Regions from separate parts of the Homo sapiens genome. Here regions 1, 2, 3, 4 and 5 are each linked to region 6. Evidence: promoter capture Hi-C in 16 types of primary human blood cells and fetal thymus (Javierre and others, 2016). All regions are on one chromosome and are shown on one strand. Each heading gives the region's core, a stretch centred on a gene start or on the middle of the fragment in contact. The rest is flanking DNA. Distances are from core to core; before and after follow the strand shown.

What was found. Contacts are between HindIII fragments. The CHiCAGO score rates a contact against its expected background, and 5 or more counts as called.
Region 1: a fragment that was not itself captured here is called in contact with the fragment with the promoter of MTSS1 in region 6 in 2 of 17 cell types (total B cells and megakaryocytes); the score reaches 6.1 in total B cells.
Region 2: a fragment that was not itself captured here is called in contact with the fragment with the promoter of MTSS1 in region 6 in 2 of 17 cell types (naive B cells and megakaryocytes); the score reaches 5.7 in naive B cells.
Region 3: a fragment that was not itself captured here is called in contact with the fragment with the promoter of MTSS1 in region 6 in 2 of 17 cell types (naive B cells and total B cells); the score reaches 5.7 in naive B cells.
Region 4: a fragment that was not itself captured here is called in contact with the fragment with the promoter of MTSS1 in region 6 in 4 of 17 cell types (naive B cells, megakaryocytes, erythroblasts and 1 more); the score reaches 5.6 in naive B cells.
Region 5: a fragment that was not itself captured here is called in contact with the fragment with the promoter of MTSS1 in region 6 in 8 of 17 cell types (megakaryocytes, erythroblasts, total B cells and 5 more); the score reaches 19.0 in megakaryocytes.

What each region holds. Positions count from the first base shown.
Region 1 is chr8:124,966,879-124,970,445 of GRCh38, reverse strand. No RefSeq gene overlaps it. Among named protein-coding and RNA genes, the nearest start is that of ZNF572, 4.6 kb to the left of the region's middle. The HindIII fragment of the contact is 2,392 bases long and covers 96-2,487 here.
Region 2 is chr8:124,898,791-124,902,396 of GRCh38, reverse strand. No RefSeq gene overlaps it. Among named protein-coding and RNA genes, the nearest start is that of LINC00964, 41 kb to the left of the region's middle. The HindIII fragment of the contact is 1,891 bases long and covers 655-2,545 here.
Region 3 is chr8:124,540,290-124,543,615 of GRCh38, reverse strand. It overlaps NDUFB9 (NADH:ubiquinone oxidoreductase subunit B9), which reads right to left. Exons shown (of 4, transcript NM_005005.3): 2 at 337-529. Among named protein-coding and RNA genes, the nearest start is that of NDUFB9, 2.8 kb to the right of the region's middle. The HindIII fragment of the contact is 4,221 bases long and covers 1-3,326 here.
Region 4 is chr8:124,947,982-124,951,568 of GRCh38, reverse strand. It overlaps LINC00964 (long intergenic non-protein coding RNA 964), which reads right to left. Exons shown (of 4, transcript NR_027321.1): 4 at 474-753. Among named protein-coding and RNA genes, the nearest start is that of LINC00964, 7.8 kb to the right of the region's middle. The HindIII fragment of the contact is 6,113 bases long and covers 1-3,587 here.
Region 5 is chr8:124,917,516-124,921,109 of GRCh38, reverse strand. It overlaps the pseudogene MRS2P1. Among named protein-coding and RNA genes, the nearest start is that of LINC00964, 23 kb to the left of the region's middle. The HindIII fragment of the contact is 2,716 bases long and covers 948-3,594 here.
Region 6 is chr8:124,727,075-124,730,528 of GRCh38, reverse strand. It overlaps MTSS1 (MTSS I-BAR domain containing 1), which reads left to right and starts at 2,056. Exons shown (of 14, transcript NM_014751.6): 1 at 2,056-2,645. The coding sequence starts at 2,574. LOC105375741 (a long non-coding RNA gene) reads right to left here and starts at 1,990. Exons shown (of 3, transcript XR_002956670.2): 1 at 463-1,990. The HindIII fragment of the contact is 14,334 bases long and covers 1-3,454 here.

The sequences.
Region 1 (3,567 bases), core at 42-2,541, 240 kb before region 6:
CATATAGGCCGTAAGTGACAGACACAGAGATGAATCACTCAGAATCCAAGGAAGTACATGTTGCCCACCTTTGAGAGTGCTGTGAACAGAAAGCTTTCAGCTGTTAGCTCCCTCAGGGAGTGCTTCAGTTTCAGAGAATAGCCTTTCTGGAGCTCATGCCCTTTCCAAGGCAGCCCACGTCTGGGGACTGATCAAGGCAGAAATATAAAAGGCTGTCCATGTTGTCCAAAGCAGGATAACTCTTAAATGCACTATTTCAGCTCCTGAGTGTTGTTTGTTTGTTTGTTTTTTAAGACAGTCTTACTCTGTCACCCAGGCTGGAATGCAGTGGCACAATCACGGCTTACTGCAGCCTCGACTGCCCAGGTTCTAGCAATCCTCCCATCTCAGCCTCTTAAGTAACTGGGACTAAAGTCACGTGCCACAATGCCTTGCTAATTTTTTAATTTTTTTTGTAGAGAGGGGGGTCTCACTTTGTTTCCCAGGCTGATGTGAACCCCTGGGCTCAAGCAATCCTCCTGCCTTTGCCTCCCAAAGTGTTGGGATTACAGGTGTGAGCCACAGTGCCCAGCCAACTCCTGAGTTCTTGATGGCCTTGATGGAGGAATGTGTTGTCAGGCCCAAATTGTAGGTCTTCCCCCTCTGCTCAATCCTGATTCCTTTCTCACCCTTCCACAGGTTTGGATACCAAGGCCATTTCCTAATCAACACCCTGGACACTAAACTCAGTCTCAGAATCTGCTTTCTCAACAAACAAGCAAATGAACAAAAACCTCCAAAATACATACATAAAATGAAATGTCCTCTCTCATCCCTGCCCCCAGCTATCCAGTTCTTCTCACCACTGGGGCAACCAACGTTGTATGTTTCTTGTGTATTATTCACAGATAATGCCATATGTGAGCAAATACCTACCTACCTGCTTATATACATATGTATATATACACATATATAGGTAATGAATAAAGATAGATGACATATATTCATACATTTCTTTTGCTACACATATAGTAAACTATTCACTTTGTTCTAAATTTTAGTTTTTTCACTTAACAACATGGAGAGTTTTCTTTTCTTCTCTCTTTTTTTTTTTTAATTTCTGAGGCAGGATCTCACTCTGTCCCCCAAGCTAGAGTCCAGTGGCATGATCTCAGCTCACTGCAACCTCAACCTCCAGGGCTCAAGCAATCCTCCCACCTCAGCCTCCCAAGTATGTGGGACCACAGGTGTGTGCTACCACTCTCAGCTCCAAGCTAATTTTGGGTTTTGGTTTTTTTGTTGTTTTTGTTTTGTTTTGCTTCGTTTTTTGTAGAGACAGGGTCTTACTATGTTGCCCAGGCTGATCTCCAACTCCTGGGCTCAAGCAATCCACCTGCTTCAGCCTCCCAAAGTGCTGGGATTACAGTCATGAGCCACTGCACCCAACCGAGAGTTTTTTATAATAGTACAGACATTTATCATAGAGCTCCCAGTATTCTTTTTTTTAACAGTTGCATGATATTCCATTGGGTAAATATAACAGTATTTATTTAACCTGTTTTTTATATTGCTTCTGAACTTATACTATTACTTATGTTGAAATGAATAATTTAACCTTTATTTTTTTAAAGCTGTGGTGGATATTGTATATTGGTTTGCTCAATAACCATTACCACTTTCTTTCATTATGCGTTCCTGCAGAGAAGAGTTGGTGTTATGAACTGAACTGTGTCCACCAGAAATTCTTTTTTTTGTTTGTTTTTTGTTTTTGAGATGGAGTCTCGCTCTCTGTCCCCTCAGGCTGGAGTAGAATGGCACCATCTTGGCTCACTGAAGCCTCTGCCTCCTGGGTTCAAGCAATTCTCCTGCCTCAGCCTCCCAAGTAGCTAGGATTACAGGTGCATACCACCACAACTGGCTAATTTTTGTATTTTTAGTAGAGATGGGGTTTCACCATGTTGGTCAGGCTGGTCTCGAACTCCTGGCCTCAAATAGTCTGCCCACCTCAGTCTCCCAAAGTGCAGGGATTACAGGCGTGAGCCACCACACCCGGCCTTCACCCAAAATTCTTATGTTGAACCTGTAATCCCCAGTGTGGCTGTATTTGGAGATAGGGCCTCAAGGGAGGTGTTTGAGGTTAAGTGAGGTCATAATGGTGGGGCTCTAATCTGATAGGACTGGGGTCCTTGTAAGAAGAGGAAGAGACACCGGAGACATCTCTGTCTGTGTACACACAAAGGAAAGGCCAGGGGAGAACATAGCAAGAAGGTGGCCATCTGCAAACCAGGAAGACAGGCCTCATGGAAACTAACACTGACAGTACCTTGATCATGGACTTCTACCTTCCAGAAGTGTGCGAAAATGAGGCCATGCATGGTGACTTACACCTGTAATCCCAGTACCTCTGAGACACGAGGACCACTTGAGCCAAGGAGTTTGAGACCAGTCTGGACAACAGTGAGACTCCATCTGTACAAACAATTTTTAAAAAAAAAGAAAAAAAAAGCTTTGCATTGGTGGCACATGCCTATAGTCCCAGCTACTCAGGAGGCTGAGGCGGGAGGATTGCTTGAGCCCAGGAGTTCAAGGCTCCAGTGAACCATGATTGCACTACTGCACTTCAGCCTGGATGACACAGTGAGACCCTGTCAAAAAACAAAACAAAACAAAAGAAGCAAAAACCAAAAAACCCCAGAACTGTGAGAAAATGAATTTCTGCTGTTTAAGCCACTCAGTCTAGTATTTTGCTATGATAGCCTAAACAGACTAATACAGTTGAAAAAGCTAAACATTACATTTCCAAGACTTCTTTGAAGCTGTAATTGCCATAGTTGTAGCAGCACCTTTGATTGACACTCCTGGAAGCTCAGCCCACAGTCCATTTCCTCAGTCCTCCCAGAGATTCCAAAAGTCCTTTAATCCTTGTAATATATCTATTATTCCTTATGTCAGCTCAAGTGAATTCTATTCTCTGTAACTGACTCTAGTTAGTACACAGCTAAACTGCTGGGGAGGCTCTAGTTTGGGGTTGAGGGCACACGGACAAAGTTTGTGCGTTCCCTGGAGTAGCAAGCTTTCAAACAGAACTTCCAGCTGGAGGATGGCTATATGGTGTGTGTAAGCAGGCTGAGCCTGGCACCACAGGTCCAGCTCGGAAATGAAAGAAGAGTGACGCTTGCCTTCTAATTATCTGTTCTAGCCATGAGCAAACTGTTATTGGAAGATGGAGGAAGGGGGTCCGATTCTCAACAGTGGTGATATCGCCCCCAAGGGGACAAAAGAGTTCTTCAGGGGGAGCATGAAAAAAAAATACCCTTTTCATGCATAAAGCACAGACATACATCATAGAAGACTTAAACAGTTATACAGTGTATTTGTGGTGTTACATTTTAATGGAGGGGGAGTGGTTAATAAAAAATGTCTGAAAAGATGGGGTGGGGGATGATAAGGAAAAGAGGGTTGAGAAGCACTGCTGTAGATATTATGAAGAGCATGTCGTATGCCAGCAAACAAGATGCCCATGTTGAAGCTGGGTGAGGTGGCTCACGCCTGTAATCCCAGCACTTTGGGAGGCCGAGGTGAGAGGAT
Region 2 (3,606 bases), core at 351-2,850, 170 kb before region 6:
TCTGGAAAAGGGAAAGGCTGGGCAAATCAAATGCCTAATAGGACTTGCTTCCAGTGCGGTCTCCAAGGACACTTTAAAAAAGATTGTCTGAATAGAAATAAGCTGCCCCCTCGTCCATGCCCCTTATGTCAAGGGAATCACTGGAAGGCCCACTGCCCCAGGGAACAAAGGTCCTCTTGAGTCAGAAGCCACTAACCAGATGATCCAGCAGCAGGACTGAGGGTGCCCAGCACAAGTGTCAGCCCATGCCATCACCCTCACAGAGCTCCGGGTATGCTTGACCATTGAGGGCCAGGAGGTTAACTATCTCCTGGACGCTGGCATGGCCTTCTGAGTCTTACTCTCCTGTCCCAGACAACTGTCCTCCAGATCTGTCAAAATCCAAGGGGTCCTAGGACAGCCAGTCACTAGATACTTCTCGCGGTCACTAAGTTGTGACTAGGGTACTTTACTCTTTTCACATGGTTTTCTAATTTTGCCTGAAAGACCCACTCCTGTGTTAGGGAGAGACATTCTAGCAAAAGCAGGGGCCATTACACACACTAATTAAGGAAACTCAGAAAGCCAATACCCATTTAGTAGAATGGACACCTGAAGCACAAGCTGCTTTCCAGGCCCTAAAGAAGGCCCTAACGCAAGCCCCAGTGTTAAGCTTGCCGATGGGCAAGACTTTTCTTTATATGTCACAGAAAAGACAGGAGTAGCTCTAGGAGTCCTTACAGAGGTCCGAGGGACCAGCTTGCAACCTGTGGCATACCTGAGTAAGGAAATTGATGTAGTGGCAAAGGGTTGGCCTCACTGTTTATGCGTAGTGGCAGCAGTAGCAGTATTAGTATCTGAAGCAGTTAAAATGATAAAGGGAAGAGATCTTACATGTGGACATCTCATGATGTGAACGGCATACTCACTGCTAAAGGAGACTTGTGGCTGTCAGACAACCTTCTGCTTAAATATCAGGTTCTATTATTTGAAGGGCCAGTGCTGTGACTGCGCACTTGTGCAACTCTTAACCCAGCCACATTTCTTACAGACAATGAAGAAAAGATGCATAACTGTCAACAATTGCTCAAACCTACGCCACTTGAGGGGACCTTCTAGAAGTTCCCTTGACTGATCCTGACCTCAACTTGTATACTGATGGAAGTTCCTTTGTAGAAAAAGGACTTCAAAAGGTGGGGTATGCACTGGTCAGTGATAATGGAATACTTGAAAGTAATCCCCTCACTCCAGGAGACAATGCTAGTTATTCCTGTGAACCTCTAGAGGATCTGCACCTGCTCTTCAAGTGACAACCATGAGGAAAGTAACTAGAATCGCAGATGCCCATGGCCCTCCCTTGTCATATATTTCTCTTTACTGTTCTCTTACTCTCTTGCACTCTCACTGCACCTCTTGCATGCTGCTGTACTACCAGTAGCTCCCCTTACCAAGAGCTTCTATGGAGAGCATGGCTTCCCAGAAATATTGATGCCCCACTGTATAGGAGTTTTTCTAAAGGAAACCCCATTTTCACCACCCACACCCATTTGCCCCTGCACTTCAGGCCATACATTTCAATCCCTGTATCTTTAACCTCCTTGTTAAGTTTGTCTCTTCCAGAATCAAAACTGTAAAACTACAAATTGTTCTTCAAATGGAGCCCCAGATGCAGTCTATGACTAAGATCAACCACAGACCCTTGGACTGGCCTGCTAGCCCATGCTCCGATGTTGATGACATCGAAGGCACCCCTCCTGAGGAAATCTGAACTGCGAGACCCCTCCTATGCCCCAATTCAGCAGGAAGCAGTTAGAACGGTCATCGGCCAACTTCCCCAACAGCACTTGGGTTTTCCTGTTGAGAGGGGGGATTGAGAGACAGGACTAGCTGGATTTCCTAGGCTGACTAAGAATTCCTAAGCCTAGCTGGGGAAGGTGACCACACCCACCTTTAAAATATAGGGCTTGTAACTCAGCTTACATCTGACCGATCAGGTAGTAAAGAGAGCTCACTAAACTACCAATTAGGCTAAAAGCAGGAGGTAAAGAAATAGTCAATCATCTATCACCTGAGAGCACAGGGGGAGGGACAGTGATTGGGATATAAACACAGGTATTTGAGAGGCAGTGGCAACCCCCTTTGGGTCCCCTCCCATTGAATGGGAACTCTGTTTTCACTCTATTAAATCTTGCAACTGCACACTCTTCTGGTCTGTGTTTGTTCCGGCTCGAGTTGAGCTTTTGCTTGCTGTCCACCCACTGCTAAACGCTGCCGTCACAGACCCACTGTTGACTTTCACCCCTCTGGATCTGGCAGGGTGTCCGCTGTGTTTCTGATCCAGCGAGGTGCCCATTGCCGCTCCTGTTGGGGCTAGAGGCTAACCATTGTTCCTGCATGGCTAAGTGCCCTGGTTTGTCCTAATCGAGCTGAACACAAGTTGCTGGGTTCCACGGTTCTCTTCCATGACCCATGGCTTCTAATAGACTATAACACTCACCGCACGGCCCAAGGTTCCACTCCTTGTAATTCGTGAGGTCAAGAACCCCAGGTCAGAGAACAAAAAGCTTGCTGCCATCTTGGGAGTGGCTGCCCCCATTTTGGGGCAGCCTGCCACCATCTTGGGAGCTCTAAGAACAATGACCCACCCGTAACAGTTCAATCCCCCACCAATGGGGATTTCTCACCTCTTTGAGGTTCAAATCCCCCCAATGAGGATTTCTCACCTCTTTTTGAGGTTCAATCCCTGAAATTAGCAGAAGGCTCAACCCCTGAAACCAGGGGTGTCTTGCTGTGCCTGTCCTGGAAGTCTCAACCCCTCAAATGAGGGGTGTCTTGCCTTGCTTGCCCTGGAAATCTCAACCCTTCAAACCAGTGGGTGTCTTGCCTTGCCTGCCCTCGGAGGTCGACCTGTTTCCTCCCTTTCCCCCTCTGAAGGTCCCTTGCACACTTCCTATTCGTGTTCTCCTCTCTGGCCACTCCCCCAAGGGAGAATTAGGCCCCTCTTAGCATTGGCGTGCTGGTAGAAATCCCATGGCAGGATCCGCCCTAAGCCATATGAGGTAGTTATGGAACTGCAGAGAGGACCCACTCACTCCATCCAGCAGTAGGACTTGTCACCATCCACACAACATTGCAAGCAGAGTTGTCTGTGATCATTCACGTGCACACACATTCAGCCCTCCAGAATTTGACCACCAAGGAAGTACTTCACCAGCTCCTGCGGCTTTTCCTTCCTTGGTCTGTGCAGAGAGTACTCACCATGGTATGTGAGGATCATTTACCCCAGGTTGCTGGCCAGTTTCTTTCTGTATTGCTTATTCATCACACCAGGTGGGTCTCGGACCTCTACCCCTGAGGCCACTGCAAGAGGCACTGGGGCGCCACCTCATGAAAGAGGACTAGAGACACCCCTGAAGGAGAATGTATCCCTGTATGATTGCCACCAAAATTGTTAGAAATAGATCATTGGTGCCTTGAAGAAAAGTCAGCACAGAGACAAAAGATCTGTCAGCAAGGCAATCTTTACTTTCTGCAGAAAGGGTGCTCAGTCACAGAGCACACCTGAACAAAGAGAGCACACCTGAACAAAGAGAGCACACCTGAACAAAGGAAAAGCAGATATATTTA
Region 3 (3,326 bases), core at 540-3,039, 190 kb after region 6:
TGTAGATAGAGTAATAATAAAAAAAAGTTTGAAATATTGCAAGAATTGCCAAACTGAGAAACAGAGACAGGGAGTGAGCACATGCTGTTGGAAAAATGGTGCCCACAGACTTGCTCAGCACGGGGTTGCCACAAACTTTCAATCTGTGAAAATACAATATCTGCCAAGCACAATAAAACAAAATGCAATAAAATGAGGTAGGCCTGCATCTGACAACTGTCAGGAAATAAGTCTCCTAGCTACCCCTTGAAGGGCAAGTGATTTCTGAGGCTGAGGTGTGGGACTGAAGAAACAAAGTCTATTTCTCAGAAGGCAGTCATCATAATTCTCACCTACCTTGTAGCAATCGTATCTCTCATAGGAGGTGCCCCCAGGAGAGTCAGGGAAGATGTATGGCTGTGGATGCTGACGGTACCAGAATTCTTCCTCGGCCTCCTTCAGCAGCTGGGTGGCCTTCGCCATATCCTTTTCATTCTTATGTTCTTCAAACCGGGCTCTCATCAAACAAGCAAAGTATCGGTATTTGTCTCTTAAACCAAAATGATTTTGAAGATTAGAAATGTTACCTACTCACGTGGTCAGTGTTGCTGTCTGACAGGAGGCTGCACTTCTGATACCTTCTGGATGGGCAGTGGACCTACCCCAACCCTCCCAATGGAGCAGCCGTATCATCATGGCTGCTTCCTCTACAGCCCACCAAACAGCAGCAGCAAAAAAATACTGTATTAAATATATACCCTAACCATTTTTCTCCTCTTACATCCAACAATGGAATGAGGATTTAAACAAAAAAAAAAAAAAAAAAAAAGAAAAGAGCATTCGCAAGAGAAAAGCTATAACCTCTGCAGGATCATTCAACATTCATTGAATGACAACTTCCATTTCCTTCTATCTTGTGCTAGTCACTATGCTAAATTCTGGAGATACAAAGATGAATAAGAAAGGTGTTACTTGGCAGAAACAGTATTGCTTAGCTCATACAGAGCTAGGTTTGTATCCTGACTCTGACACTAGCTGCATAAACTTAGGCAAGTTAAAGTCAAGTTCTAAAGAAACTGGGCAAAGATCAGTTAGGAGGTTTTGACAATAATCTAGGACACAGCTGACGAGGGCCTGAAAGTACGGAGCTGTGATGGTGACAGGAGACAGGGGAGACATTGAGACTTCCAAGTTATGAGAATAGGCTCTCCAGTCAGACTGTATGGGCCTGAATCTTAGCTCTGCCACTACTAGCTGTGTAACTTGGGGTAAGTTACTGTCTTCTGGTCAGGTGCGGTGGCTCACACCTGTAATCCCAGCACGTTGGGAGGCCAAGGCGTGTGGATCACCTGAGGTCTGGAGTTCAAGACAAGCCTGATCAACATGGAGAAACCCCGTCTCTACTAAAAATACAAAAATGAGGCCGGGCATGGTGGCTCACGCCTGTAATCCCAGCACTTTGGGAGGCCAAGGCAGGGGGATCATCTGAGGTGAGGAGTTCTACACCAGCCTGGCCAACATGGTGAAATCCCGTCTCAGCTAAAAATACAAAAACTAGCCGGGCGTGGTGGCAGGCACCTGTAATCCCAGCTACTCTGGGGGCCAAGGCAGGAGAATAGCTTGAACCCGGGAGGCAGAGGTTGCAGTGAGTCGAGATTGTGCCATTTGCACTCCAGCCTGGGGGACAAGAGCGAGACTTCATCTCAAAAAAAAACAACAACAACAACAACAAAAAGGCCAGGCACGGTGGCTCACGCCTGTAATCCCAGCACTTTGGGAGGCTGAGGTGGAGGTCACCTGAGGTCAGGAGTTCAAGACCAGCCTGGCCAACATGGCAAAACCCCGTCTCTACTAAAAATACAAAAATTAGCCAGGCGTGGTGGCGCATGCCTGTAATCCCAGCTACTCGGGAGACTGAGGCAGGAGAATTGCTTGAACCCGGGAGACGGAACTTGCGGTGAGCCAAGATCGCGCCACTGCACTCCAGCCTGGGCAACATAAGCGAAACTCCGTCTAACAAAAAAACAAACAAAAAAAGTCTTCTAGGCCACGGGTTCCTCCTCTGTAAAACAGTGGCAATAACAGTGTGTATATCTTAAGGTTGTCATAAACAGTCAATAAGATAAACACACTTTAAAAAGTGCCTGGTACATCCCAAGTGTTAAATAATGTCAGTTACTAATATCATACTGGAAAGAGAATTTATAAAAACCAGTGTCTAATTATACATGGTGTATGAGTATGTGTGTTATTGGCAAAGGAATAAGGAGCAAATACTTGAGAACAATTCTGAGACTTAAAGCTCAGTAACTGAATTACTAATAATACCATTAGCGGAGGCAGGGAATTTGGGAAAAGAGTCAGAATGGGGAGTGACAGGAAAACAAGTTTGATTTCAAAGAATTTAGATAAATGGAGATTGAGAGAACGGTTGGTGATCTTTTCAATTTTTTTTTTATTATTATTTTTTGAGACAAAGTTTCACTCTTGTCGCCCAGGCTGGAGTGCAATGGGGCTATCTCGGCTCACTGCAGCCTCTGCCTCCCAGGTTCAAGCGGTTCTTCTGCCTCAGCCTCATGAGTAGCTGGGATTACAGGCACCCACCACCACGCCTGGCTAATTTTTGTATTTTTAGTAGAGACGCGGTTTCACATGTAGGCCAGGCTGTTGAACTCCTGGCCTCAGGTGATCCACTCACCTCAGCCTCCCAAAGTACTGGGATTATAGGCGTGAGCCATCATGCCCAGCCAACAGTCGTGATCTAACAAGCAATTCGAACTACAGCTCTAGAGACAAATGAGCGCAGGTGGTGACAGCACTAAATGAGGCTGCCCGAGTACATACAACAACACAGTATGCCTAGGATGGAACCACAGAGAACAGCACAATGAGGGCAAATGGAGGAAGAAATTAAGGCAAGGATTGAGAAAGAATGTCAGATCTAAAAAATGCTGAGCCATAACTGTCATAGTAGCTAGTTTATATCATTTTCCTCTAGAACTATGGACTTTAGTATTCCCAGCTATAGTTCAGTATTGCTTGAATTCTTTTTTTCATGTTTAACTTTTTTTGACACATAATTATTGTACCTATTTATGGGGTACATGTGATATTTTAATACATCCATATAATGTATAATGATCAAATCAGGGTAATTTGGATATTCATCACCTCAAACATTTACCATTTGTGTTGGGATACCTGAATCCCTGATGGCTCAACTTCCTTCATCATCGATTTGTTTACATGTCCATTTTCCCCACTAATCCGTGAGCTGCTGCTGCTCAAAAATGGATTTACTAACATTTATATATTTAGCATAGAGCATAGAATCTGAATTGCAAATT
Region 4 (3,587 bases), core at 42-2,541, 220 kb before region 6:
AGAAATAAATGTATAGGGGAGAAAAGCAATAAATCATAACTTCAACACACAGCCTTTCTTCTTGGTTTCTTTAAAGACAGCAAAAAAAATATGATGCCAGACTCACATAAATCGAAGTAGATAATGTCATTCTCAAAGAGTTTATCCAGCACTCTCCCATATGTCAATTATTCAACAACTATTTACTAAGCATCTACTACACTCAGGTATTCTGTTGGATGCTAAGGAAATCATGGTGAATAATTTGTTCTATGTACAGCCATATCTTAAGAAGTACATTCTAAGTAGTGCCACTCTTACATTGAAGTGCTGGAGGAAAACAAGTGATTTCCTAAATTACAACAGTAATATAGGCTTAGTGTAAAAAAAAAAAAGAAACAAAACACCAAACTTACACATATCCATAATTTTATTACCATGCTAATATAACTTTTTCTTGTTATCTATAAACTTATAACAAATCCAAAAACATAGTGGTTAAAAACAATTTATTATTATCATTCACAGGGCCTCATGGGCTCAATGAGGCAGTTCTTAATTAGAGTGTCTCAAATGGTGGCAGTCAGAGGGCATCTTTTTTGCCCATGTGGTTAGCTTGGGCTTCCTCACAGCATGATGGTTTCAGAGTGCTCAGACTTTTAAGACAGCATCTGGCATCCTTCAAAGCAAGTGTTCTAAGAGTCGCAGGCAGAAGCTGCAAGGACTTCTTAGGAGCTAGCTTCAGAAGTCACACGGCATGACTTTAGTAGTATTCTGTTGACCAAAGCAGTCACAAATCAGGCCACATTCAAGGGAACAAAGGAATAAACTGCAACCCTGGCTTGTGTGGATATAGGGAGAAGAAATTTATGCTGGTCAGCCATCTTGGAGACAAGCTACCATAATTATTTATCTTTTGTTAGTATGACTTTTCAAAAATTTTTCTACATAACCAAAATATAACCATTAAAATCAGGAAATTAACATTGATACTAACTGCAGTCTAATCCTCAGAACCCATTCAAGTTTTGCCAGTGATTCCAACAAAGTAATCCAGTTCAAAACCACACATTGCATTTAATTGTCAAGTCTTTTTGGTGTTCTTTAGCTTGGAAAAGTTCCTTTGTCTTCCCTTAACTTAAATGACCTTGGCAACTTTGATGATAGCTGACCAGTTATTACATAGAATGTCCCTCAATCTGAGTTTCTTACAATGTCTCTGATGTTTCCTTAAGTTATGTATCTTGGGTAGAAATACCACAGAAGTGTTGTATTCTTCTCACTGATACTATTGGCTGAGGCATAATTTACATCTGTCTCACTGCTGTTGATATTCAGTTAGATCACTTGATTAGGGTGGTATCCACTAGGCTCCTCCTAGCAGAGAACTAGGAATAACTTCCAAATTGCTCTTTAACCCTTTGTAATTAATAAGTGTTTTGTGCAGAGTTATTTTGAAATAGATATCCTGTTCCTCATCAAACTTTCAATTTATTCATTTATTTCTATCTTTATGGACGTACACCTTCCTATTTTATTCAAAGGGATTACGGTAGTTTTCTATTGCTGCTGAGACAAATCACATTTTAGTGGCTTAAAACAACATAAATGCATTATCTAACAGTTCTTTATGTCAGGAGTCTGACACAGGACTCACTGGGCTAAAAATCAAGGTGTTGACAGGGTGGCATTGCTTCCTGGAGGCTCTAAGGGTGAATCCATTTTATTGCCTTTTCTGTCTTCTAGAGGCCACTCACATTCCTTGTCTCCTGGATCCCTTCCTCCATTTGGAAGCCAACAACACAGGTTGAGTCCTTCTCATGCTTCCATCTCTCTGGTTCTCTGTAGTCAGGAAGGATTTCTATTTTTAAGGACTCATGTGATTACACTGGGCCTGTCTAGATAATCTGTATTAGTCAGTGTTCTCTGGAGGAACAGGACTAAAAGGATAGATGTATATATAAAAGGGAGTTTATTAGGAGTATTGACTCACACAATGCCAAGTTGAAGTCCCACAATAGGCTGTCTGCAAGCTGAGTAGCAAGCAAGGAAGTCAGTTTGAGTCTCAAAACCTCAAAAGTAGGGAAGCCAACAGTGCAGCCTTCAGTCTGTGGCAGAAGGCCTGAGAGGCCCTGGCAAACCACTGGTGTAAGCCCAAGAGTCCAAAAGCTGAAGAACTTGGAGTCTAATGTTCGAGGGCAGGAAGCATCCAGCAAGGGAGAAACAGGAAGGCTGGAAGACCCAGCCAGTCTAGTCCTTCCAGGCTCTTCTGCCTGCTTTATCCTAGCCATGGGGGCATCTGCTTAGATCGTGCCCATCCATATTGAGGGTAGGTCTGCCTCTCCCAGTCCACTGACTTAAATGTTAACCTCCTTTGGCAACACCTTTACAGATACACCCAGGAACAATACTTTGCATCCTTCAATCCAATCAAGTTGACACTCAATTTTAGCTATTACATAATCCAAGATAATCTTTCTATTTTGGGGTCTCTAATCAAATCTGCAAATTCCCTTTTCCCATGCAAGATTCCATGTTCATAGATTCCACTGATGCAGGCATAGACAACTTTGTAGGCCATTATTCTGCCTACCACAAGGATTATAATCCCTTATATTAATTATTTTGATGGTCAAATTGTCTCCAACTGGCTATTTGAGTTATCTACAAGTTAGCTTCTGGGTCCTTTTGATATGACTCCATAGTCTTTGAGAGCTTCCTTGCTTTCTGGCACAAAAATATCTTTTAGATTCATCTTGTACTTTTTAGTCCAAACACTAGAATCAGTCATTTCTCCAAAGAACCTTGATTCCTTTTAGTGGAGAATGGTATTTAGAAGCCAAAGTCAACACTTTATTATAAAATTGGCTTTGTGTTAGATGATTTTGCTCAACTGTAGGCTAATGTAAGTTTTCTGAGCATGTTTAAGATAGGCTAGGCTAAGCTGTGATGTTTGGTAGGTTAGATGTAGTAAATGCATTTTCAACTTATGATAATTTCAATTTACAAGGGTTTATCAGGATATAATCCCATCACAAGTCAAACAGCATCTGTAATGTCTTTGTCAGCTAATTTTAACATCTGTGTCAGTTTCTGGATTGGTTGTGATTGACCCATTTATCTCCATACTCTGGAGCAGATCTTTTTGATTCTTTGCATGCATTGTAATTTTTTATTGGCTGATATACTTTAAACGTTATCTTGTTGGGGCCTGGATATTTTTGTATTCTGATAAATATTTTTGAGTTTTGTTCTAGAACTCAGTTAAATTATTAATACTTGGAAATAAGTTGATCCTTTCAGGTCTTGCTTTTAAGATTTGATAGGTTGCCAGGCGCAGTGGCTCACACCTATAATCCCAGCACTTTGGGAGGCCGAGGCGGGCAGATCTCCTGAGGTTGGGAGTTGGAGACCAGCCTGGCCAGCATGGGAAAACCCCATCTCTACTAAAAATACAAAAATTAGCCTGGCATGGTGGCAGGCACCTGTAATCCAAGCTATTCAGGAAGCTGAGGCAGGAGAATTGCTTGAACCCAGGAGGCAGAGTTTGCAGTGGGCCGAGATCATGTCATTGCACTCCAGCTGGGAAACAAGAGCAAAACTCTGTT
Region 5 (3,594 bases), core at 1,056-3,555, 190 kb before region 6:
TCACCCAAGATCTCCAAAATTGACTCTTGGAAAATTTTAATATCTGTTTCTAACTCTGATAGACTTTTGTCATTCCGTAGTAAAATATGCGGTTAGCTTTTGTCCACAGAAGAATGTTTGAAAGCTTCTAAGGTCTCAAAGGTCAGTGTCTGCAAAACGCTACGTTTCCTCTAAAGGGGGTTGATCCAGTATTTCAGGGGTGCTTCCATAGCACTAAACTCAAAAGGTAAAGAGTATGTAACAGGTTGACCCTCTCCAGACAACTGTGAAGGGAGTTCCCAGAACAGCCATTGCTCTAAATTTAAATTACCATCATCTAATATCAGGAGACACTCTGGAGTTATCACAGCTTTCAAATACTCCATTGTCATGATAAACCTGCCGTTTCTGGTTGTGATGCTCACTACATGCTGAAATCTCAAGTCTCTGGCTTGAAGACCTAACTCTTGGTATAAGTCAGTTTTCTTCCTTTCAAAAGGAGTAACATTTCCCTGTTTGTCAAATTTTGTTGCGGTAAATACTGGGGCTACACTGCCTACAGTGGCTTGAGAGACATCAGAAGTTCTAAACCCATGCATTGCACCTGCTACGCAGAGCCGGCGGGCCCACACAGGTCAGATCCAAGGCCAGGGAAGTCCCATTGCATGGGTCAGGAGGCAGGGCAAGCTCTGCAGGCATTCATGGCACTACAGCTAGAAGCAGGCAGTAGCCAGACCCCAAGCCCTCATGCCGGACTGTGGCGGCTCAGTCCGCAGCACTCACCTGGCGCTCTTTTGCTCATTTTCTATGTTTTATTTTCTAAACAGTTTTTCACTGTTCACTTTTGAGAATTTTTTATATATTCTAGACACAAGTTCTTAGTAAGATGTGTGACTTGCGAATATTTTCTCCCAGTCTGTGACTAGCTTGCCTTTTCATCTTAACAGGGCCTCTGCTGAGCAAAAGCTTTTAATTTTGATGAGGTCTAATTGATTAATTTCACCTTTTATGGATTGTGCTTTTCATGTCAAGTGTAGGAATGCTTTGCCTAGCCCTGGAGCTAGATTTTCTCCTGTGTTTGTCTTGGAAAGGAGAAGAGTAAATTGACTAAAGCAATGTAGGGTATCTGGGCAGAACTGAGGAGTCACTAAGGGCAAAGGAATGGGAGACGGAGGAGGCTTCAAGGTTACTGCTGGTCCCTGGAGGGGGCACCATGGGTAGCAGCTCCTTCCTCTTCTAGCTTGAGTTACATGGGCAGAGCAGATGGTCATCTTGGCAATATGATGGGAGGCTTAGGTTTCTTCCTCCCCCACAATACTCACAGACCCTGAATAAATTGTCTAGTTCTTTGATTCCCTCAGAGCTTTATCCGCAATCACATGTTTTCACTACATTGTCATGACTGACTTCTCATAACAGCTCTGTAGGGAGGACATATTATTATCCCCTTTTACAGAAGATACAACTAAGGCCAGAGAAGGGATGGGACTGAACACAAATCTCCTGATATGGAGAGGAATGACTGTTCTTCTCTACCAGCTGAATCTTGAATTCCGCCACCAGTTATTTCATGAGGTCAGTGGTTCTCAAAGGATGATCCATGGGCCCCTAGGGATGCCTAAGACCTTTTCAGAGGGTCCTCAAGGTCAAAGCTATTTCCCCAATAATGCAAAAACATTATTTGCCTTTTCTCCATAAGCAAAAATTCTCCATTTTCACGTATGATGCCAAAGCAAAGACAGGTAAAAAAAACTGCCTTAGCATGAATTGAGGCAGTGGCACTGATTCTTCATCCCCTCAATCACTCACAGGAGAGGTAATAGCCAGTTTCACACTGATTTCTTAATAAATGGGAAGTCCACACGAAGTATTTCTGCTGCATACCAAAATAAAATGGTTGTCTTGAGGAAAAGTACTTCTGCAATTATTTAAGTTGCAAGCTGAACTATTTTTTTTGCATGCAATGCAAGTTTTACTTGAGATAATGGCTGACAAACTATACTGATTTAGACTTGGGTATTTGGCAGGCATTTTCTTAACAAATGAACAAAGTGAGCCTGTCACATCAAGGAACGCCACTGACTGTTGCCAATGACAACATTTGAGCTTTCAAGTGAAAATTAGAATTTTTCAGAAAAAAGTGTTATTTGCCACTATGCATTTGATAGCTTTCCAATACTTAAAGATGTTTCTGAGGATATCAGTGGTCATATTAATAAATGTGATTCTTTGCTATTGCATAAAGAAGTATGCTTCCAGGCTGGGCATGGTGGCTCACGCCTGTAATCCCAGCACATTGGGAGGCCAAAGTGGGTGGATCACGAGGTCAGGAGTTCAAGACCAGCCTGGCCAAGATGGTGAAACCCCATCTCTATGAAAAATACAAAAATTAACCAGGTGTGTTGGTGGGCATCTGTAATCCCAGCTACTCGGGAGGCTGAGGCAGAGAATTGCTTGAACCTGGGAGGCAGATGTTGCAGTGAGTTGAGATCGCGCCACTGCACTTTAGCCTGGATGACAGAGCGAGACTCCTTCTCACAAAAAAAAAAAAAAAAAAAAAAAATGGGAACAACAGACACTGAGGAATTCAAGGCGAGACAGAGAGGGAGGCAGTAAGGGTTGAAAAAAGCTACTTATTGGGTACAATGCTCACTACCTGGGTGACGAATTCATTTGTACTCCAAACCTCAGCATCATGCATAGGTACATCATGCAATATACCTATGTAAGAAACATGCATATGTACTCCGTAAAATAAAAGTTGAAAAAATTTCCTCCATTCTAATTTCTACTACTGCAAAGATTGATAGGTACAACCCGTATAAACAAAAGCTCTTTTAGAGCCTCAGTAATTTTCAAGAATGGGAGGGGACAAAAATGTTGGAGAACTCTTTGCTAAAGCAGTGAAGTCTCCTATTAGCCACTGTGACCAAGTGAGGCATTATCCAGCATTAGCATTCTTTCTCAGATTATTCACCCACCCTAGGCTTCCATGTGACCCTGAAATAAGGGACTTCACTTCCAAGTTTGGCCGAAGATGCTATCAGGGAATCCAGGATTCTGATTATGGTAACATACCCTTCCCACCTCCTTTTCCTGTTCTTCCTCCTAATGGAAAGGACATGGGCTATGAAGCAAGCAGACCTTGATCTCAGCCTCGGCCCTGCATAAAGTAAGAAATAGTAATGCCTAGCCTTCCTTAGCAGGATTGTTTGGAGGATTAAATAAAGTCATGAAGACAAATCTGTAAAGTGCTTACAAATGGAAGTTACGATCATTTTCTTTCTTTTTTTTTTTTTTAACTTTGAACCCTGAGAGGCTAATGAAGTTATGATGATTTTCTAACAAAGGGAGTTCATTCACATTTATGGTCTATTGATGTGGTGTTTCAAAAAACGTGTCCCAAAGAGGTCTTGCATGTAAAGACAATAGCACTAGTGCACAGTTTCAGCTTGCAAAGAGCTGTCAGTCTCAGGGTAAGATGAGAGTAAACATTGACATGACAGTGTAATGCAGTTAATCTTTGAACTCTTAACCAAAATTTCCCCCAAGCACCCACTCATGCTTCTGGCTACCTGTGACTCCTTCCTTGTTCAGATAACTGAACAAGTTGCC
Region 6 (3,454 bases), core at 807-3,306:
CAGCCTCCCTTTCAAGGAGTTCTCATGAGAGACAAGGGCCTGGTGGTCAGGCCCAGGGAAAAAGGCCACAAGAGAGGTATGCTTTGGCAAACATTGCTAAAGTTGGGGTATTTGGGGCATTGAAATTTAAGCATGTGGCAGGAAAGCTAGACCAAGTGTCCACTGGGCTAAGGCCCCTTATCCCAGGAGTTCAGGAGGCTGGGTAAAAGAGAGACCTGGGGCATGGAAGTCAGAAAACCAGGGTTGGATTCCTTCCAACAGTGCAACAAGGACCAGAATGATAATTTCCTTCAAGTAGACATAATACGTATAAAATGCCCAGAATGCACACAGTAGACCCTCAGCAATGTGCCTGGGACAGCACACCAATGTTACAGAAGTGAAATGGGGCCAGGGCTGGACCTGAGCCTTGGCCTCATCCCTGCTTCTTCTGTTGATAAGATTTATCGAATGATTACTTACGAGATGCCAGGTACCACTTGAAGTGCTTTCATCGATCAGCTCATGTAATGTTCAGAACAGCCCTATCAGGTAGAAGCCATCATTATCCCCATTTACAGATGGATGAGGAAACTGAGGCCCAGAAAGGTTAAGTAACATACCTAAAGGCATACAGTTAGTAGGTTGTGAACTGGAGTTTGAATCCAGGCAATCTGGCTCTACAAGCAGTCATCTTGATAGTTAGAATACCAATAGTATTAAAATCACAATAATGATTGGCAGCAAACGATGTGTCAAGCACCCGTTATTGGCAAGGTGAAGATGAGTCGGATGCATTCGAACGCCCTTGGGGACAGGATCCAGCAGGGGTGATCAAGAGATCAGTTACTTCCTGAAGGTAACACCCTTCCGGGTGATTTCGGGGAGACGGATGGGGAAGGTGGGTTGCAGTTAAGAGTTGGGCAGAGTGATCCAGGGGAACATTATCTTCTGCAGCTGTGCTGTGTAACTCCATGCATCCCTTTGATCCATAAAGTTTTCAAAGCCAGACCTTTTCCCATTACGGAGTGAATCTGACACAAGTGTACAGAATTTTGCACTTGGTTTCTTTTGGCCCCACTCCCCCCAGTCTTTTCTTTTGTTATGTTTTGTGCTTCAAATGGTTAGCTCAAGGGTTAAAGGAACTGTCCGGAGTTAGGTGCCTATGTCTTAATATCTTTTAAAAGTTGCTCATTTGATTCTCCTCCCTCTGGCCCATTTGGCGTTCATCTGAATGAGGGCTCCTGGTTATGCAGATAGGCAGTGGAGCTGTGAAAATGGACCACTAGGCCCCAAATCAACCTGGGCACATTTGCGCTCTGCAGGTTCAACCTCCCAGGAGGGCTCCCTGCGGTTATACCAACGCTGGCTGCTCTCAGTGGGCCTGAAAACCATCAACCGTCCAAGTCATAGGCAATCAGCAATCTCGATAGACTGATGGATCGTGGACAGAAGCTCTAACGCTGTTTCCATTCATTTAGCAACAGCAAATCAATCCACTTTCCCAGCATCCTGCAACTTTATCGAACTCGGCATCCCATTGCAGGATACGCCCCCGAACTCTCCTTAATTATATATTTCGCTATTTGCAATCAGGACTCGGCGATGCAGTCCTGACATCAGAGAATGGGCGTCTTCTCAGAAGGCCGCAGTAGCGGCAGCAGCTTTCCCGCCCTACTGAGCGCTCACTACAAGCGGGCTCTGGGCTAGGCGCGCCACCCGTGCAAGTCCCCGGGGAGCGGCGGTGCACCCTCCGTCCCGCGCGCTCGCAGCCATTGTAGGGGTGGGCGCTCGCCAGGCAGGGTGCCGACACGCCCTCTCCGCGCTGCGACGGGCGGCCGGGGGAGGAGAGGGTGCGCTGTGCGCACCGGAGGGAGAGGCTCCGGCCCAGCGCCGCCTGCCCGCCAGCAGACCAGCAGGCTCCTCTTTGCGGCGGGTGCCCCACGCGCCTCTCGGGCGCGCGCTCCCAGCCCCGCCCGCGTGCGGCGGCCGCACGGCCGCGAGAGCGCGCCTCCGCTTGGCGGGCACGGCCGCGAGCGCGCGTGCGCCCCTCCGAACGTCCCCGGGAGCCCAGCCAGAGCGAGCGCCGGGGCCGGGCGCGCAGGAGTGAAAAGGAGGCGGCGGCCGCAGCTGCGAGCAACAGATCCGGACGCCGCGAGCTGACCCGCTCTGCTGTTGGGCGATTTTTTTTTAATTGCAGAAAAATTTATTAAATTGGAAAATCTTGCGTTTTTCAATGGCGCTGGCCCCGGGTCAGCGGGCGATTTTCTCTGCATCAAGATGGGCTTTGCCGTTTCCGTAGTGGGCACCAGTGGTGGCCTGATTGTCAGTCTTCTCCCGGCATTTTTAAGGCCAGGAGCCGAGCGCTGCTTGTAGGCGAATACCCTACAGAGCGGTTTGGCTTTTTAAATTACTGTTATTATTTTGGGCAGAGAACAGTCGGTCTGGTGCACCCCGTCCTCGCTGCAGAAGAGGCTGCGAGTCCGAGGTGGGTCTCTCGGAAGGTGAAATTCCTTCTGGGGTGAGCGAGCCCCGGCCCCGCGCGCAGTCCAGCGGCCCCGCGTGTGTGCCCTCGCCCTGCCGGAGCCGGGAAAATGGAGGCTGTGATTGAGAAGGAATGCAGCGCGCTCGGAGGCCTCTTCCAGACCATCATCAGCGACATGAAGGTAGGACGCCGGGGGTGCGGCTGCGGCGCCGGCCGCCGCGCTCTGACCTCGCCGCCGCGCTTCGCCTCCACCCCGGGCCGGGCACCCGGCCCTTCCCTGCAGTGTGGCCACCGGCCACCTGCGGGAGCTCCCGGCCGGAGTGTCACCTGCTCACCCGGGGCGCTGCTCCGGGCTCTGCGGGGTCACTGGGCGGGTGGCTTCTCTGGGGGGTGTCTGCTGTCCCACGCCATCTCCCCCGCTCATTGTCCCAGGGGGCGGCACCATTTCTTTCCCTCGGGGGCTCAAGGCACTGGCTGCAAGTTTTCCCATTGTCTGTCCCTGAAGTAAGTGTCTGGGACCCGCGGGGGCTGGATGCCCGGGAGGACACCTGATTCCTCCGGGCACGGGGTGGGGGCGCCTGGCGCGGTGGTGGGGAGGAAGTGGGGGCTCTGCCCGCTCGCAGGAAGGAGTCCCCTAGCCTAGGAGACTGAGAGGGAAAGCCAGTCCCTCCTTGGCTGTCAGGTCTACTTGGAGTGGGGTATCTGAGCAAATTAGTTATTAATTGGGCCGTTCCGAAGCTGGTAAAGGTGTGCGTGCCCTCTCTTAGCCCTCCCGCGGGGCGCGGGGCCGAAGTTCCCGGGCAGCCTTGCAGGGGCCCCGCCTTCTCCCAGCTGAGCCTAAAGGCAAGATTGGGGCCCCCGAAATAACTGTATCCTGCCCTCCCAGACCCAAACGGACACACACTCTAGGTTTTCTCTTGGAAGGGTTGTGAAGATGGTGTGTGTGTGCGCGCGTGCATGTGTGTGTGCGCGCGCGCGCGTGGGGGCGGG